Linked DNA regions of Homo sapiens: regions 1 and 3 are each linked to region 2. The links are contacts of gene promoters, found by promoter capture Hi-C in blood cells and fetal thymus (Javierre and others, 2016). All regions are on one chromosome and are shown on one strand. The core of a region is centred on a gene start or on the middle of the fragment in contact, and the rest is flanking DNA. Distances in the headings are between cores, read along the strand shown.

Region 1 (2,700 bases), core at 28-2,527, 240 kb before region 2:
GTTGCAGTGAGCCAAGATCGCACCACTGCACTCCAGCCAGGGTGACAGAGTGAGAATCTGTCTCAAAAAAAAAAAGTCAGTTTTGTATATGGAGATTCCAACACAAAGTAGGTCACCCCTGCCTCAAGTTTATATATTTTTTAAAGCTTTACATGCCTGCATCATTCTGTGTAAATTGCTTTATAAACAGTGTTCCCAGTATCAATAATATATGTCTTAAGGGAAAAAAAATTCTCACCTTTTAAGACCATTGCCGTATTGCCCTATGAACTTCAAGGTTGACAGCCGTTTTTTGGATCGTCCAAAGTAAATGATGTCTGAAGCTTCCTCTGTAATTGACAGTGACTTTTAAGGTGGTTAGGAAGACTCTTTGACACTGGCCTGAGGCCCAGCTGTCAGGACCTCACATTCCTCAGAACATCAGGACAAACCCATAGCTCTTGGGTCAGCCCAGAGACAAGGATTTTCATCAGAATCCACAGTCTCTGACAAGGGTCTTAATGGTATTACAGTCAGCCCAAGGTACGGCAGGCTCCACATTCATAGACTCAACTAATCTTGGACTGAAAATATTCAGAAAAAAATAAATTGCGTCTGGACTGACCACGTACAGACTTTTTTTTTGTCATTATTCTCTAAACAACAAAGTATAACAACTATTTAATAGCATTTACACTGCATTGGGTATTATAAGGAACCTGGAAAAGATTTAAAGTATACAGGAGGATATATATAGGTTATACGGAAATACCGTGCCATCTTCTTTCCACAGCTTTTGGTATCCTAGAAAGGTCCTGGAATCCATTCCCTACAGATACTAAGAAACAACTGTATACTGAAAGAGATGAGACAGACCTAACCATGTGGCCTTAGGTAGAGTTTAAAAGTCTGAGCCTTAATTTCCATGTGGTGTAAGAGGCAACTACGTAATACTTATATCACGGTGTTGCTGATGAAGATAAATGAAACAAATGAAATGAGATGATGTATTTGTGAAATCCTGAACACAAAACTTGGCACTTGGTGGGTGTTACCAAATTACAAGTGTTATAATTACTTGTACCACTAGTAATTTCCCCACGAATTTAGCCCTTAACCAGGCCCATGTGAGACTAAGAGGGGCAGGATGACCTCTGCTCTGATACTACCTGGGAAAGAAGGCTAACCATTTCAGACGTTCCAAATCATTCTCCCGACCTCTCCAGGTATTCTGGAATTCTAGACAGTAATCCTCTGGACTTCAGAATATATTAATACCAATCTCCAGAACCAAGAATGTTCTTCTTGTTGGCCTACCTGAATACATGCTGAAGAATTGTCCTGAGGACCCTCTGTCAGTCTGGGTACAGATATGCTATAGTTCAGTGGCACATGGTATGAGGTGTGTAAAAGCCACCAAACATTCTGCTTCTCTGAAACTAACTGGACCTCCTATGATATGTTCCTATGAGGGGTTAGGCATTAGGTAAGGATATCCATAATGACAATCTTAGCTAACACTTATTGATTGTTTAGTATATGCTAGGTACTATGTTTATACTTACATGCACAGCTTATTTAATATTTATAACAAAACAAGAAAGGTATTATTACTATGACCTGCATGTCACAGATGAGCAAATGTAAGTCTAAGGAGTTTTAAAAACCTGCCCAAGGTCACAGAGCTGATAGAGGGTACAGCTAGGATTATAACCCAAAGTTCTAAGTCTTGGTACAGACATGGTATAGCTCTGAACCAAATCCCATGTGTTCATTACACACTACATGAACTCACGTGCATGGTTACCCGGTTCTGAGCATGGGAATAAACCACTGAACAGGCCAGGCATGGCTCCTGCCTTGGACAACACTATGTCATGGTAGGAGAAACAGATTGAAAGTAAACTAATAAATAAGATCATTTCTGACTGAGTATTAAGTGAAGAAAACAAAACCAGGGTAATGCGATAGAGAATTAACAGGAACGTGGCCTGCAGACAGAATGATCAGGGAAGGCCACTGGCAGATGGTTAACATGAGATGGATTCAAACGATGAGGGGTCAGCCATGTGTGGGTGGAGTGTTCTAAGGGAGGAAGTGGGAAGAACAAGAAAAGGCCAAAGAGGTGCATAGGGCCAAATAATGTAAGGTCTTGGAAGAGATGCTGAGAGTACAAATTGTATTAAGTAATGGAAAACCACTGAGGGTTTTCAGCAGGAAAATGATATTAATGTACATTTTCAGCAGGAAAATGTACATTAAAAGAAAGAAAATCACTCAGGATGCTGTGTGGGGAATGGACTATAAAGGGGCAAGACTAGAGAATTTTTTAAAAACCCGGAAAGTACTGTAGTCATTTTCTATGGGTCAAGATTGATCTAGCTCCGTTTGAACAACGGATAGATTCTACTTTTAGTCATCTTCCTTCTACTTTATTACTAGTTGATGCTACTATGTAACTGAAGTGTGAGTTCCTTCTGAAGGTCTGAATATCCGTCACTTGTCTGTGTTTCAAACATTTTGTTCATGACCCATATAAAAAGAGTTGCTTCTTTTCATAAGGAATTCCCTTAGAATATATCACATATATTCTGTCATTTATTTTAGGAATTCAAAAAAATGAACTTAATATTCAGGCTAGAAGTGAAAAATTACTTTTTTCAGCATGGGTTTTTTCTGTTGTTGTTACAAACTCTTCTTTCTCATTTAAACAATAAAAGA
Region 2 (2,751 bases), core at 95-2,594:
CACTTTCAGGGTGGATTACTGGACAAATTAACATTTGTATGGCATTTTTACATCTCTATAGCAGTTCTACATTTTGATTTGAAATTTATATTTGCATAAACCTTACAAAAAGTACTCACTTTGGACCTCACAAAAGACTTAAAACCGAGACAGTTAAAAATGACCCAGTTCAAGTCAAGAGGACCTGAGAGCGCTCGGATATGGCCGTTCAGTGCCTGTGCAACGTCTTAAATCCTCTCTTCCTTCAGTTTCTGTCTGCATTGTTCCCAATGTCTGGCTTCTGATTACTCCTAGGTCCTAAGGACGCTGGGAAAAGGGGACGAATTCATTCTCAGCACCCTCGGTTTAGGATCTGTGTCCGTCTAAAGGAAATTAAGGGGTTTCATTCTTTTCCAAACTCAGCTCAATTACCTCTTCCTAAAATCTTTCCTTTAACACCCTTTTCTCCTGTTACCATTTCCCTCTAGCCCCCATATTCAGTTAGTTCTTTCTGACAGGACTAAGCACCTCTTCAAAACAGAAAACCCGGGCCGGGAGCAGCGGCGGGCGCCTGCAGTCCCAGTAGCACTTTGGTAAGCCGAGGTGGGAGGATCGTTTGAGCCTGGGCGGTTACAGTGAATAGTGATGGTGCCACTGCACTCCAGCCAGGGAGACAAAAGTGAAACCCTGTTCCAAAACACAAACCTGAAAACCTAATTTTTTAACTTTTTCTTTTGAGGTGGAGTTTCGCTCTGGTTGCCCAAGCTGGGGGTGCAATGGGGCGATCTCGGCTCACCGCAACCCCCGACTCCCGGGTTCAAGCGATTCTCCTGCCTCAGCCTCCCGAGTAGCTGGGATTACAGGTGTGCGCCACCACACCTGGCTAATTTTGTACTTTTAGTAGAGACGGGGTTTCTCCATTTTGGTCAGGCTGGTCTCGAACTCCCGACCTCAGGTGATCCGCCCGCCTCGGCTGCCCAAAGTGCTGGGATTACAGGCGTGAGCCACCGCGCCCGGCCTCTTTTTTTTTTTTCCCCATCTTTTGACACACTCAACCTCCTCAACTAAACCTAGAAAACCTCATTTCTTACTTGTCTGCTCACTCCAATATACCAGGCTGCAATCATATTCTTGGGCCTTACTCTTAAAATAAAAAAAAAAAAAGTCAAGAGGAGAAAATTCGAAGGCACATTCTTTTCTCCTTAAAGGAAAAATCAGGAGTGCCCAGGGAAGACAGAAACACAAAGACAGACAGAAAACAAATCCACTAAAACTGTACTGACCTCCTTGCCTTTTGCCTTCTCCATACTTGTAGAAGAAGCGGAGCCTCGCAACATGCTTCCAAAATGGCCCCTGCCCCAAGATTGCTATTTGCAAAGTCTCCTCCCACTTCCTGCCGCCCGAAGACCCTTTTTCTCTCCACCTCACCTCTTCTTTTCTTCTCCCCTTCTGTTCCCTCCCCCACAATTTGTAAATGCTAAAATTGCATTCTTTCTTATTCATGGGGTGACTTTTGTCTGGGTTGAATTACTAATACTATTCCTGGCCCTTTTCTGTTCACTTTAAATGTAATTATCCAAAGTATGGTTCCGGAGACATTGGGAGATTGAGCACTCCTTCAGAACGATTCTACGGGGAAAAAAAACAAAAAACAAAAAACAAAAAAACAGTGGCCAGAGACTTGAGCAGGATGTGTGAAGGGATTTAATAATGGAACTTGTGGCAACAGTAGACTTCAGAGACCAGACTGGCGGCTTGAAGAAAGCTATTTTCTCGTACCAAATACATTCCATTTCCTAAGTAAGTTACTCAACCAACTAAAACTCCAGGTTTCTCTGTACTAATACCGAGCATCTTTTCATCTGCCAACGAACTAATAATAGTAGCTTTTAAAGTCTATAGAGTATTTGTTATTTATTTTGTAGAGGGCAAGTGGGGGGGTCTGGCTATTTTGACCTGGCTGGTCTCGAACTCCTGCCCTCAAGTAATTCTCCAGCCTTGTCCTCCCAAAGTGTTGGGATTACAGGCGTGAGCCACCACTCCCCGCCCGAGTATTTTTTTATATCTCAAATTGTGAGTTTTAAATTCAGTCATTATTGTTCCCCATTTTATATATGACTAAAGTTGGTATAAATTTTTATTGGTAACTTTTTCAATAGCACAGTAAGTGAACCCCTAACCTACTGACTCCCAAAGAAGTTCAAGTTTTTCTCCTTAAAATAATTTGAAAAATCTTTCCTCAGATCAGTGCTCCCTGTCAGATTGTCAAGAGATGTGAAGTGAAGGAAGCAGTGGCTGTGCGACTGAAACCCTCCCTTGTCAGGGTCCAAAGTCTCTTTTGTTCTTTGGTTTACTTTGTTGTTTTTTTTTCCTACATCTCATTGCTTGTCCTAAAATGATAAATAAGAGACTGTCTTTATCCAAATGGTGTTAGTAATCTGCTCACAGGCTAGAAATCCACGGACAGAAAAAGTAAGTAAACGGAGCCCAGGAATAGAGAAGGAAGTGCAGGTTGTGGACTGGGCAACCCCCAAGGCGGCAAAGAGGAAACCAGGTGAGTTGAGGTCATCTGGGAGATATTAGGGCTTTGATTTAACAATTCTTTACCACAGCCTTTGGTAACCACCAGTAGGACTTTCTAATTAAGGTTTGTGTATAAAGTGTATAACTGAATCATCTTTCTTTTGTCAGTGTAATTGAACGTAACATTCAGAATAACTGGAGTTCTGGGCTGGGCATGGTGGCTCACGCCTGTAATCTCAGCACTTTGGG
Region 3 (2,700 bases), core at 122-2,621, 220 kb before region 2:
GAGCAAGACCCTGTCTCCAAATCCAACCAACCAATCTAGCTGGAGGAGCTGAGAAGTCTTCCATTTGTATCTAATTTTGTTGTTACTCCATGTCACTGTCACTTGTTAAGTTACTACACCACCAGTTGAAAATGGTACTGGGGAAGTGGCTACCACAGGGTGGTTTGGGGGAATGGAGGTTGTGAAGCAGTAGCCACAAAATCCATATAAAACTGAGGCTGAGGAATTTTTCTGAGATAAAATTCACAGTCCTTCCAGCACTGCCCTGAGCATTTTTCTTAAACTCACTCGAAACTATTATTTCTTCATTTGTCTTCCACCTCAGCTACCTTTTAACTTTTTGTTCCACCTTTTCCAGCTTGACATCATTCTCTAAAGAGAGATGAAAACTGAGTATCTGCTGAATATTGCCTGTTTAACTCTGCTATGTTAAAATTATACAGTCTGTCCCACAGAGCAAGGGTGGCCTTCCCTGGCTTTCTTTATACCTCCATTTCTGTGGTTTCAAATTTGGTACATCCCTGATATCTGTTCCTATATTTAGTAAATCCAAATTACCAAAAGATGTCAAAAAAAAAAAAAAAAAAAAAAGAAACATAAAGAAAAACCCGGACGTTCCACTGTGAATTAAATAGCACTAACTGCTATAATTTGCTGTATGGGAAATGGCAGATGAGAGAAAAAACCTCTGTCATTCCCCTCTGCAATCTGACTATCTGAAATGACACCTGAGAAGCTCTAAAAGGCAGACAGGCATGGCAGAGAAGAAGAAATGACCAAATAACTAAAAGGTGAGATTCCTATCCTTAGAGAGGTTACATTTTTGAAAAGACTCAGGAGGCCATAGAGTTTGAAATCAATATATGCAAATTACTCTGTTTGAAGGGCAACTTTAATGTTTAAATTGTCAGTGTGTTAGGCAGACTAAGGTTAGGCAGGATTGGTAGAATCACAGTTCTGCTGACCAACAATTAAACAGTTGTGTTAAATGATAAATGTAGGGCCTTCCAACCACTTGGTGTTCACTGAAGAGCACCTAAAGGGTTCAGCCTGGCCCAGAATATATCTTTATTATGCTTTCATCGTTTTAAAAAAAGCCTATACAGCTCAAATAAATAAATAAATCCATAAATCAAGTTCACTTGCTGAGTATTCCTCAGGGGACGGGCAAAACCTTTCTTCATGGCGGGCGCAGAGACCCTCCCCGACCCCGACCCCACCTCGGCACTCACGAGTTGGCGTGGATGAAATCCAGACGCAGCTGGGCCCGCTGAAGCGCAGGGTACCTGTCGTCCATGCCCTCGAACACGACCCGCGCAACTCAAGGGGACAAGGACACCTGACCGGCAGCCGTTCGCCTGCGCCCGCGCCCACTCCCACGCCCACGCTCACGCGCAGAGGGCGGGTTCAGCAAACACGTGCTCCCCCTTGCGGCGGGACCGCGAAGCTCCCACTGCGTCGTCGACTCAGTTGTCTCGCGAGGTTTGTTGCTTGGTCTTGGAGCCACAATTTGAGAATGACGTATCTGAGTTAGAGTCTCCTGGAATTGAGGTTTATGTAACTTTTTCAGACGGTTGTTCCCCACCCTGCTCCTCTCAATCACTCCCCAGCTGGAAAATGGAGCCCAAAACTGGTATTAAAATTTGATTCGAAATGATTACACATTCACACAAGATGGTGGGGGAACGTGGGCGGCAAGGCAGGACAGTGCGGGGAAGGTGAGTGGGTAGTTCTCTTTGCTTGTCCATTGTGTTACATAGAACCAGAGGTAAGAGTGCTCTGTCCTGTAATCCTAGCACTTACCTTCCTGTGTCTCTTGAGTTGATCATGTTTTTTCTATTTGGAGGAAAAAATGAAAAACAAAAGTGACAAGCCGGAGAGAAAACAAAAGGAATAACTAAAGACAATCAGAACAGAATTTGGACTTTAATATAGCGGCTTGTCCCTAGGTGAGAATAGCTGCCCCCACCTGAATGGATCACTAACCTTTTTTACCTGTCAGCTGACATGCGACTATTGCACTTGCTGGCCTGGCTCAATGCCTAGATATTCGGTATTGCTCCAAAAGATAGAACTAGGCAGGTAGAAGGTAGGGGTGCGGGGTTGGGGCGGGTAGATAAATATGAGGAAGGACTGCGCAGATGTGTAGAACAGCTGTATAAATAAATGGTGTTTCTCTACTCACAAAGCCCTGAGTTCTTAAGTCACCAAAACCCAAGCTGATTCAATGTCTTTTGACTTGGAAACCAAGGTAGTTCAATAATACTCAGCAAAGATTTTACATGATAGTCATAAAGTCAGAAACAAACATCTATTAAATAAAGAACTTGAACTAGATGTGTTTGTAATTTCCAGGCATCATACAGGCAGTGAAGCTCTCAGAAAAGAAAAAAAAAATAGTTTTGGAGTAGTCATTCTACTTCCAAAGAGAGGAGTTTATCAACTACTACATTTATGGGAATCAGGAGAGGAAGAGAGAATTTGAATGGCAACCCGAAGGAACATGATGTTCTAATTTCAAAACTGGAAGTAAACATAAACATTTCAAGTAATTTTCCTGATTGCATTTTTGTTTTAACAGTGGCTGATGTGGTGATGTTTTGACAGCAAAATTCTCTTTACTAAGCAACTTGAGCGATCTTTCCAATTTTTCCTTCTATAGAACTTCACAAATACGATATTTTATTTTCATTTTATGAG

Evidence for each region. The method cuts DNA at HindIII sites, captures the fragments that hold promoters and counts their contacts. A CHiCAGO score of 5 or more calls a contact.
Region 1: a contact is called between the fragment with the promoter of MORC1-AS1 here and the fragment with the promoter of DPPA4 in region 2, in 16 of 17 cell types (neutrophils, activated CD4 T cells, naive CD8 T cells and 13 more). The highest score is 17.3, in neutrophils.
Region 3: a contact is called between the fragment with the promoter of MORC1 here and the fragment with the promoter of DPPA4 in region 2, in 5 of 17 cell types (non-activated CD4 T cells, activated CD4 T cells, neutrophils and 2 more). The highest score is 6.7, in non-activated CD4 T cells.

Annotation. Positions count from the first base shown.
Region 1 is chr3:109,100,179-109,102,878 of GRCh38, forward strand. MORC1-AS1 (MORC1 antisense RNA 1) reads left to right here and starts at 1,278. Exons shown (of 3, transcript NR_144461.1): 1 at 1,278-1,381. MORC1 (MORC family CW-type zinc finger 1) reads right to left here. Exons shown (of 28, transcript NM_014429.4): 5 at 239-329. The HindIII fragment of the contact is 2,885 bases long and covers 322-2,700 here.
Region 2 is chr3:109,336,202-109,338,952 of GRCh38, forward strand. DPPA4 (developmental pluripotency associated 4) reads right to left here and starts at 1,345. Exons shown (of 7, transcript NM_018189.4): 1 at 1,263-1,345. The coding sequence starts at 1,316. RefSeq lists enhancers at 1-233, 234-842, 843-1,450, 2,669-2,751. The HindIII fragment of the contact is 8,399 bases long and covers 1-2,751 here.
Region 3 is chr3:109,116,763-109,119,462 of GRCh38, forward strand. MORC1 (MORC family CW-type zinc finger 1) reads right to left here and starts at 1,372. Exons shown (of 28, transcript NM_014429.4): 1 at 1,233-1,372. The coding sequence starts at 1,297. The HindIII fragment of the contact is 4,037 bases long and covers 1-2,700 here.